Linked DNA regions of Homo sapiens: region 2 is linked to region 1. The links are contacts of gene promoters, found by promoter capture Hi-C in human tissues and cell types (Jung and others, 2019). All regions are on one chromosome and are shown on one strand. The core of a region is centred on a gene start or on the middle of the fragment in contact, and the rest is flanking DNA. Distances in the headings are between cores, read along the strand shown. Region 1 holds the start of TMEM33 (transmembrane protein 33). Region 2 has its middle 12 kb from the start of LIMCH1-AS1.

Region 1 (5,207 bases), core at 804-3,303:
AGGGAAAAATCCAAGTACATTGTAAAATTCCAGGCTGTTTTATTTTATGTCTTTTTAACCCACATGTAGGTAATTTCAGAAATATGAAATACAACTTTGATTTATCATTAAATCCAGACTTACCGTACTGTGACTCCAATAAACTGAAATGATTAGCAGTAATCAAGTGAAGGATGAATCCAGCTTACTGTGCTCAGTTTCTCAACAAATATTATGACTGGGCACCACAGCTTGAAAGTTAGTTTTAGAACATTCTCCTTAAAATCTATTTGTTCAGGTTGTTTATTCTGCAATAAATCATTGAGCTATGCGTTTCATTTTGTACACACTTATGTATATTATACAATTTTAAAAGTTTAAGAAAGTCTATTGGTATACATTTTTTAAGAGTAAACTGTCCAACCATCAGGCAAAAAAAAAAAAAAATCACTAGATCTTTGGGTGAAAAATTGTTGAGGAGCAATATTCACACAGTGTCACAGTATCATGCCAAAGAACACTTTTTAATTAGAAAGGAAAAAAGGTATCTTTACAATGGAGAAACTGGTGGACACCACCTTAATCAAATAATCAAACAAATTCTGCAATGATGGGATAAATCAATGTAAAATGCTTCCTGATATATAATATAGATATACATATTAGATGTACCTATATATGCTGCAAAACATGTCTGGACTCTTGAAAACTATCAGTATCTTAAAAGACAAAAAAGGGGAGGAGAGGGCAGAACTGTTCTAGATTAAAAGGCAGTAAACAAGATATGGCCAGTAAATTGAATGCATGCTTTCTGAGATAGGGTCTCGCTCTGTCACCCCAGGCTGGAGCGCAAAAGCACAACCCACCTCAGCCTCCTGAGTAGCTGGGACTATGCTGGGACTATAGGAGCGCACCTCCACGACCGGCTAATTTATGTTTGTTTGTTTGTTTGTTTGTTTTGAGAGAAGGTTTTGCTCTATCACCCAGGCTGGAGTGCAGTGGCGCGATCTTGGCTCACGGCAGCTTCAACTTCTCGGGCGCAAGCGATCCACCCGCCTTGGCCTCCCAAAGTGCTGAGATTACAGGCGTGAGCCACCACGCCCCGCCTAATTTCTTTGATTTCTAGTAGAGATGAGGTCTCGCTATGTTTCCAAGGCTGGTCTCTAACTCCTGAACTCAAGCGATCCTCCCGCCTTGGACTCCCAAAGTTCTGGGCTTACAGGAGTGAGCCACTGCGCCAGCCCATCGATGCATGCTTTTTGACAGAATCCCAGATGAAGAGAAAGCAGCTTTAAAGGACAATTATGGAAATTTGCACATGGATTTTATATTAGGTAATATTTCCCAAATGTGGTAACTGCATTGTGGTCACACAGAATAATACTTAACTACTTATGGATTAAAAAGTAGAGGACAGCAATGCTCCGGGCACAAATAACTTGTTAGCTCCAGATCAGCATCTTAAAAAAATTACAAAAGCATAATGATATTTCTCTTCATAAAGAACAAAGTGAAGAAGAAAAAGACCACCGCTCTCCTCCCTTTGCATAATTTCTATATACGATTGTATAAACTAGGCAGAAACGTTCTTTGCCGGCACTCGTGTGCTCCACGTGGTGTGTGTCATGGATCATGTGTGTCATGGCACAATCTCATGCGGCATCTTTAACCTTGGGGCCTACGGTAAACAAAAGACCGAGGTGGGAGAAGAGGAAAGAAGGCCCAATTTCCATGGCATACAGGTGGGGGCCACCAGCTCCAGGTCAGCCTATTGTCGCTTCAGAAACAAACTTGTAGTTCCCTCCATATCTTCGCTCAGGACCTCCCCTCTCCCCGCTCCAACTTCCCCACCCCAACTCATTAATCCCATTCCTGAATGCACTGAGCTTCTGGAACGCCTCGGGACTCGCAACGCTTCCTGCTTCTTCCTAACTCTTGCAAATCAAGCCAGACTACCCTGCCCTCGCACTTACCACAGCGCCCGCCCCTTGGGGGCCGTTCGGGGTCGTATCTGCCATGGGGGCTCACACTAGCGTCTGCGACGCCGCAACCGCGAAGAGAGAAGAAAGGGGAGAGAAAACGTCAGCGCTGGGGCCAGGACCCGGGTACCGGCTTCCCTGCCTCGCGCCACACACAGGCCGGATGCACCCTGCCGGAACTCTGAGCCTCCACCAGGGAAGGGTCTCGCTCGCCTGGTGCAGCCGACTGGATCCAGGGCACCCGCAGCAGCCGGGAGGTACCTGTCCCGCACCGCCGAGATCAAAGCGGTGTTTCCAGAAAGACGGGAGCGAAGGTGGAGCTTCGGGGTGAAGCCCTAAAGAGCCAACCTACGCCGCCGGCTCCAGGTTATTGCCGAACCCGGAAGTGCTCCTTTCATTTCCGTGGGGAAGAGGCGGTGACAAAGAGGGGGAAACGGGAGCGGTGCCCAGAGGCATGACGGGAAGTGTGGTTTTTTTCTCCTAATTTGAGCCCCACCTGTCCTTCCGCCGATTGGCCCAGTGAGCTAAGAAATCAGGATGGGGGAGCAACTTTTGCATTAAATACAGCTCACAAATGATCTTTCCTGCCCATTCTCAAACCATGAAATTTCCGCACTTCCTGATATAGAGGCCTCAGAAACATCTTTGATTCCTTTCTCCAGGGGCTTACTAAGCCCGTTGGTTCTACGTCTATTATTAATTCTTTCAATAAGTATTTATGAGGCCTGCTATGTGACAGGCTCCATACTTGGCACGGCGGATAAAAAGAGGAATATGACACAGATTGCAAAAGAGAAACAAGTAAACGGAAATCAGAGCATAGTGATTGTGTAATATGTGTAGAGGCTGATTTAATCACAGGGAGCACAGAGGACGGTACCTAAATCAGAAGGGATCTGGGGAGGTTTCCTGGAAAAGGTAAGTCCGGGCCTTGATCTTGAACGACAAAAAGTTGGCTGAAAGTGTTACTGGTGTAGGGTGTCCAAGTTCTTGGCGTTTTGAACATAGAATTGGACAAAACGCACAAAGCAAGGAAAGAATAAAGCAACAAAAGCAGAGATTTGTTGAAAATGAAAGTACACTCCAGAGTGTGGGAGAGTGAGACAGCAGCTCAAGGGCCCTGGATACAGAGTCTTCTCGGGTCCAAATACCCCCTAGAGGTTTCCCATTGGCCACTTGGAGTTCACTTCATGTAAATGAAGTGGTGGCCCGCAATCAGTCTGAATGGTTGCGCAAAGCAACCAATCAGAGGCTGAAGAAGTTACAAAGTTACACTTCTATGCAAACGTCTGATTGGTTACAAAAAGCAACCAATCAGAGGTACTTTCAATTTCCCAAATCTGCGCAGAACAGGTTGGGGCTTGCAAAGGGAGTAGTATCTGGCCCTTTATTCACTTAAGCGTGGACAGTAAGGATTTTCCTTCAATTTAGTTCTAGGAAGTCAGCGAGAAAGGGCATTAGGTTCCCTACCGCCATACCATATTCTTCTGCCTTAAAACGGGAAGGGAACTCCATACAGAGTAACAGAAAGTGCAAGAAGTAACAGGACAGCGAGAGGACTAGTTGAGTGTGACCAGAATGATGGTACCAGTCAGGGGATTGTGAAAGATTTGCGCTAGAGAGGCAGGCAGGGGTGTACTGAGGAAAGGATCTGAACTTGACCCTGAAATCCAGAGAACCATGGAACAATTTTAATCAGAAGTGTGACATCCTGAGATTTAGAAAGTTCTCTCTGGCAACAGGGTGGAGGATGAACAGAGGGGCAAATTAAAAGTCAGGAAATTCGTTGTGAAGCCATTTATATATATATAAACTAAAAATAAAATCCTAAGTAAGGGGTCTGTCGACTGACTGGATAGATCCCTTTCTTGGCCAAGGGGACCCCAGCCATGATGGGACAGGAGATCAGACATGCCTCATTATACCCCCTCCCTTTTGTAGTTTAGACACAACTGACTAGCAACTACTTAGGCGTGGAAAGTTAGGGTTTTCCTTTCAAATTAGTTCTAGGAAGTCAGCCTATGTTTAACATGTTAATGTTACAATAAAGATCATAACATTGACAGAACAAACTCTTTGTGGGAATAGGATACCAAATTATAAACAGGACCTAAGGCCATGCCAGGCAAGGGTTAAGTCATGCACCCCCTACACTTAAAAAATAAACTATGTTCTACCACAAGAGGTTTTTTTTTTCCCTCTGGCAGCTAAACAACCACTGGCCTAGAGAGAAGCAATATTAAAACAATTACAACTAATCCAGCTCACAGACACTAACTGAACCCCTGCTATACCAACCATAGCTACAGCTTTGATTGCACAAGAGACTGATTTCAGTAACGTTCTCCAGATAAGACCACTGACCATAGGCTGGTTCTGGCCACTTTACAGAGGCCATGCACTTGTGTGCCTTCGTCTCTGCTTCACCTTTTGAGGTACAGAGCCTAACTGTAATACATTAAATATTAAGTCTCCACCCCAAGGTGAACACAGGTTGTATGTAACATGCATGTTGTTCCATACGCATGTATCAGGACTACTTTTATGAATATTCATAGCTCTTCCTGTAACCTGTTGAATATGTATGTTTAGCCAACCTATTCAGCATAAAGCTCCTACCCCAGCTCCTCTTCCTTTAAAGTGCCTGTCTCTGGTCCTTGCTGGAGGCTGTGCTTCCCAGCCCATGAGAGGGCCACCTTGCAGGCTGTATCTCCTTATAAGAAATAAAGTCTCCTTTTCTGAACATATAGATCTTGTGAGTTTTAAGTTAACACATACGTGTAGGAAAGAAGTGATGAGATTCTGGATTGAGGCAGTGTTGTTGGGGAAAAGAAGAGGAAAGATGACTTGGAGGTGGCTTCTAAGATGTGGTGACTAACTAGGTATGGGTGTGTAGGAAGGGGAATGCCATCTGCTGAGACCTGAAGAAGTGTAGAAAAAAATGCATGAGAAGAGCAGTAGATTGAGAATCAAATATGAAGGGGCTAGGGAGAGGGAGTGGACTGGGGACCCACGGGAAAGCTGGCACCCTGTCGGAAAACCATGAGACTGTAATGCTCTTCCTCTGTCAGATGTGTGGTTATCCTCTAGTATCCATGGGCAGACCAGGTGCTAGTCAGATGCAGCCGAGAAATCAAATGGGGTTCTCTTGAAACAGTACAAACCTCTTTTTCTAAGGCCACTGCCCAAGTTCAGGTCCTTCAGATCTCTAGCCTGGATTACTCATCCTCCTAGCTGAGCTAAAATGCC
Region 2 (5,207 bases), core at 1,681-4,180, 230 kb after region 1:
ATATTTACACAACCCCTATAAAGCTGTATGAATAATAAAGCCATTTGGTTGGGTGTGGTGGCTCCCAATATTTTGAGAGGATGAGGCAGGTGGATCACCTGAGGTCAGGAGTTGGAGACCAGCCTGGCCAACATGGTGAAACCCTCTCTCTACTAAAAATACAAAAAATGATCTGGCATGGTGGTGCATGCCTGTAATCCCAGATACTGGGGAGGTTGAGGCAGGAGAATTGCTTGAATCCCAGAGGCGGAGGCTGCAGTAAGCTGAGATGGCACCACTGCACTCCAGCCTGGGTGACAGAGCAAGACCCTGTCTCAAATAATAATAATAATAATAATAATAATAATAATAATAATAATAATAATAAGAAAGCCATTCAATAGGAAAATTGGCAAATGAAATGAACAGGTAATTAACAGAAGTGGAAATTGGTCCATTTGTGTGTCCAGAAGTCCAATAGAGATATGAAAATATGCCCATTTCAGCCTCACCATTAGTCAGGAGAACATAAATTTAAGCAATGCCTTCCATCAGAAAGGCAAAAAAAATTAAGAAACCAGAGATACCAACTTTTGAGTATGATGTGGGGAAATAGGATCTTCTATGCTTTGTTAAACTATTTGGAGCAATCACTTTGGAAAGCAGTTTGTCAATATTTAGTAGGGCTGAAGGTACTCATAACAAAACAAAACTTACGAATAAATGTGAAAACATAAAAAGGCAATGAAGTTGATAGCCCCTGTCTATCCTCCTTGATAGGGATCCCCTTCCTCCTGCACCAAATCCTGGATTTTGTTTGTGTTAATCTTTTGTTTTGATTTGCTCTTTTATTGTTATATCAGGTAATCCCAGAGACTATAATGCTTAGTTTTCTATTGTCTTTGAGCTTCATAGCAATGATGTTGTACTGTATGTAATTATGGGTGCCTTGCTATTTTAACCTTATATTTTCTGAGATTCACCTAAATATATGTGTATACTCTGCAGTTCACTCATTTTTCACTACTAAAATAGAATACCATAATATCCAAACGGTGCTGTGAAGGACTTTCTTGAACACGTCTCCCAGGGCACGTGGGTGAGAGTTTTCTTGAGCTTCTCTAGCGTTTAGGTTAAGGTATTTATGTTCTAGAAGTGAAATTGCTATGTCAAGGGGTATGAGCTTCATCAGCTTCACTAGATAATACAGAATTGTCTACCAATACACATTCTTTTTTTTTCTTTTTTTCCTTCTACTTTTAAGTCAGGGGAACATGTGCAGGATGTGCAGGTTTGTTACACAGGTAAATGTGTGCCATGGTGGTTTGCTGCACAGATCGTCCTTTCACCTAGGTATTAAGCCCAGCATCTGCAAGCTATTCTTCCTACTCTCCCTCTCCCCACAGGCCCCAGTATGTGGTATTCTCCTCCCTGTGTCTATGTGTTCTCATTGTTCAGCTTCCACTTATAAGTGAGAACATGCGGTGTTTGGTTTTCTGTTCCTGCGTTAGTTTGCTGAGGATAGCAGCTTCCAGCTCCATCCATGTCCCTGCAAAGGACATGATCTCATTCCTTTTTATGGCTGCATAGTATTCCATGGTGTGTATGTACCACATTTTCTTTATCCAGTCTATCACTGATGGGCATTTGGGTTGATTCCATGTCTTTGCTATTGTAAAAAGTGCTGCAGTGAACATATGTGTGCTTGTATCTTTATAACAGAATAATTAATATCCCTTTGGGTATATACCCAGTAATGGGATTGCTGGGTCAAATGGTATTTCTGCATCTAGATCTTTGAGGAATTGCCACACTGTCTTCCACAATGATTGAACTAGTTTACACTCCCACCAATAGTGTAAAACATTCCTTTTTCTCTGCAACCTCGGCATCATTTGTTTTTGACTTTTTAATAATCGCCATTCTGACTGGCATGATATACTGTCTCACTGTTTTACCAATATACGTTCTTATCAGTAGTGTATGAGTTCCTATTGTTCCACATCCTCACTAACACTTGGTCTTATCAAAACTTTAAATTTCTATCAGCTTGGCTTGTATAAAATGGTATCTCATAACGGCTTAAACTTATATTTCCTCCCTAAAAATATGGAATATATTTGTGTGTTTTGCTATTCATGTTTTCTATGAAATGCCCATCATGTCTTTTGTTGTTTTCTGTTGATCTGTTTGTATTTTTCTTATTGATGTTCTGGAGTTACTTATATATTTTGGATACTAATTGATTTATGTGCAACCAATCTCTTGGGTTGTAGCTTTTTAAAAACTTTCTTTTCACCATATAGAAGTTCTTAATTCTTAACAAAGTTAAATAATTTTCTGTTTTTGGGGAGATAGGAGGAGTCTTGTCTTACTGTTTTTGTTTGTTTGTTTTGTAGAGACAGGGGTTTCCTTTATTGTCCAGGCTGGTCTCGAACTCCTGGGCTCAAGTGATACTCCTGCTTCATGCCTCCCAAAGTGCTGGGATTATAGGTGTGAGCCACCAGGGCCAGCCATCAATCTTACTGTTGTTTTAATTTGCATTTCTATATCTCTAGTATGGTTGAAAATTTTTTGGTATTTATTGGCCATTATATTTCTCTGTGAGTCTATGTACATTTCCTATTGATTAGTAAAAAGCTTTCATAGTTTATGGCTATTAGCTCTTTGTTATATTTGTTGGAAATATTTTCCCCAGCTTTTTATTATTTTTAAAATTTGCCTTCAATTCTCTTTATTGAGTATGTATTTAAACATATTTAAGCCTATCTTTTCTTTTCCTGCACTTAACACGTTACTCTACCTGAATTAATTTTATTGTAAACAAATGATGTTAATCAACTATCCCTCCTCTGGTCATTGAAACACTATTATTATACACTAAAGTTTTTATGTTTATTTGGATTTGTATATCATATTCATTGCTGTGACAGTTACAATCAGTTTATCAATTAGTTTATCAATTCTTGCCCGAGATAGGTACTTTATTATCTTTACAGTAAATTTTACTGTTGGGCAAGGCAAATTCCAGTAAATTTTACTGTTGGGCAAGGCAAATTCCTTTGATTATTCCTTTTTTTTTTTAAAAACACATCTCAGAAAGGCATTCTCCAAGTCTAATCAATGATTCCATGTTTCCCAGAATGTTATCATATCAACAAGATGAAGTTTCTCGATTTTCAAGGTATTAGACAATCACAGATTTTCACGGATTCAGGAGGAAGTGTTCAATACTCCAGGGTCAGACGTTGGGTTAGTCATTAATTCCATAGCAAAGGAGCATGAGTGTAGTGCTTGAGAAAATGTTGGACAGATGCTCCCTATAGCTCTGTAGAGTCATCCTCAGCCAGCCAAGGTGTTTTCTAAGACCACAGGACCTGCTGAAATAATTCTCTATCTACCTGGTGAATAATAAAGAACACAAGCTATCACAGACAATGCCATTATTCCTGCTAAAAACTGAAAACACTTTCATTCATGGATCAATGGATCTATTTGAGTGAAATAATATTGTGATATGGGAACCAATGTGGGGTGCCATCAGAATCCTTTCTCCATCGGGATGGTTAGAAAGAGACCCTCCCTTTGTTCAGGTCTGGGCTGAGTTTGAGTTTGAGGTTTGGCTATGAAGCAAAAGTTGAGTGGGACAATGTGTTATCTATTAGGCAGCACTAGTTTTTCCTTGACTCTGGAAATTAGACTTTGGGAGGGAACAGGAGGTTTTGGAGATGGTATGTGTTAGGGAGAGGTCAGTGGGCTCTGGTCAGGGGTGTGGTTGGCACAGACAGACTCCTCAGCCTCTACTGCAGCAACCACCAAGGTGCCCAAAGCCTTGCCACAAAGGAAAGCTCCACTTTTCTTTCCAGAGTAAAAAAATCAAATCACAAGAGGAAAAAAACAAAAATACTGCTGTGGTTCGGATATTTGTCCCCTCCAAACCTTATGTTAAAATTTGTTCCTCAGTGTTGGAGGTGGGGCCTAACGGGAGGTGTTTAGGTCATGGGGGTGGATCCCTCATGAATAGATTAAAGCTCCTACTCAAGGGTGAGTGAGTTCTCGCTCTATCAGTTTCAATAAGAGCTGGTTGTTAGAGCCAGCCTGGCATCCCCACTCCCACCCGCTCTTCTTGCTTCCTCTCTCACCATGTGATCTCTGCATGTGCCAGCTCCCCTTCACCTTCTGCTATGAGTGGAAGCCACCTGCAGCCCTCATCAGATGCAGATGCCCAATCTTGAACTTTTACAGACAGCAGAATCATTAGCCAATACTTTATTTATAAATTACCCAGTCTCAGGCATTCTTATAGCAACACAAAAGGGACTAAGACAAACAGTCCATTGAGTATTTGTTTATATGCGTAAATTTACTATAAAAAGAGTGTTCTAGTCTCTGTTTGGGTGCAGATGAAATCCTACCAAGGTCTAGCTATGGTCAAAGGTCCTCCTAGTTGGTCTGGAATAAGATCCCAGACACAGGCACCAGGAACAGTTGGATAGGAAATTATCCTGATCCACCCTGACTGGGGACAGAGGGTGAAATACACAATTATGTAAAATCTTATACTCATCCAGAATAAGCCACTTATCCCTCTCATACTTCAGTTTCTCACCTGTAAAATGAGAAGGCATACATCTATGTTCTCACATGCCAGAAATACTATTTGATAAGTAAAACAATACTTGCAAAAGCGCATTTGGTAAAATGATGCCAAACAAATTTAGGAAAAATTCTAGTCTGTCTATTTGCACACTTTTCTGTCCTTTTGAGTCACTCAGAAGCATGAACGTAACCATTAAGGGGAAGGGCACAGTTGGGCAAAACACTGAACACGGGCATTTGTGAAATAGTAATGTTTGATGACAATGCACAAATACTACTATCTGAAAGTGTTATGAATCATAACAATATCACCTGATGATTAATGGCTCTATTGGCTTCTTTCTCTGTGTGACCCAAGACACTCTGAAAAGCAAATATTTTGCATGGCCATTTCTTGATATATTTTTCAAATAAAATGATCCACAGCAGAGCAAATTAGTAGCAGTTGATAGAAAAGCAAAGAGGAGACTGAGCTATAGGTTGGAAATTAGTGGCCTCAGAACAAAATTGGACTTGCATATATATTTTGCTGAACCCCGCAATTTTGGATAGCACTGTGTTGGAAAATGTTTTAAACTGTCAATATTTAAAAACTGGAGATTTCACATAAAACAACTGATGAAGCCAAG

The links. The method cuts DNA at HindIII sites, captures the fragments that hold promoters and counts their contacts. A contact is called where the count stands out against the background at its distance.
Region 2: a contact is called between a fragment that was not itself captured here and the fragment with the promoter of TMEM33 in region 1, in 1 of the 25 tissues and cell types used here (H1 embryonic stem cells).

What each region holds. Positions count from the first base shown.
Region 1 is chr4:41,932,275-41,937,481 of GRCh38, reverse strand. It overlaps TMEM33 (transmembrane protein 33), which reads right to left and starts at 2,053. Exons shown (of 7, transcript NM_018126.3): 1 at 1,953-2,053. The coding sequence starts at 1,997. It overlaps LOC105374426 (a long non-coding RNA gene), which reads left to right and starts at 2,807. Exons shown (of 3, transcript NR_188374.1): 1 at 2,807-2,876. RefSeq lists enhancers at 1,664-1,733, 1,744-1,793, 2,034-2,213. The HindIII fragment of the contact is 16,795 bases long and covers 1-5,207 here.
Region 2 is chr4:41,701,798-41,707,004 of GRCh38, reverse strand. No RefSeq gene overlaps it. Among named protein-coding and RNA genes, the nearest start is that of LIMCH1-AS1, 12 kb to the right of the region's middle. The HindIII fragment of the contact is 3,651 bases long and covers 1,105-4,755 here.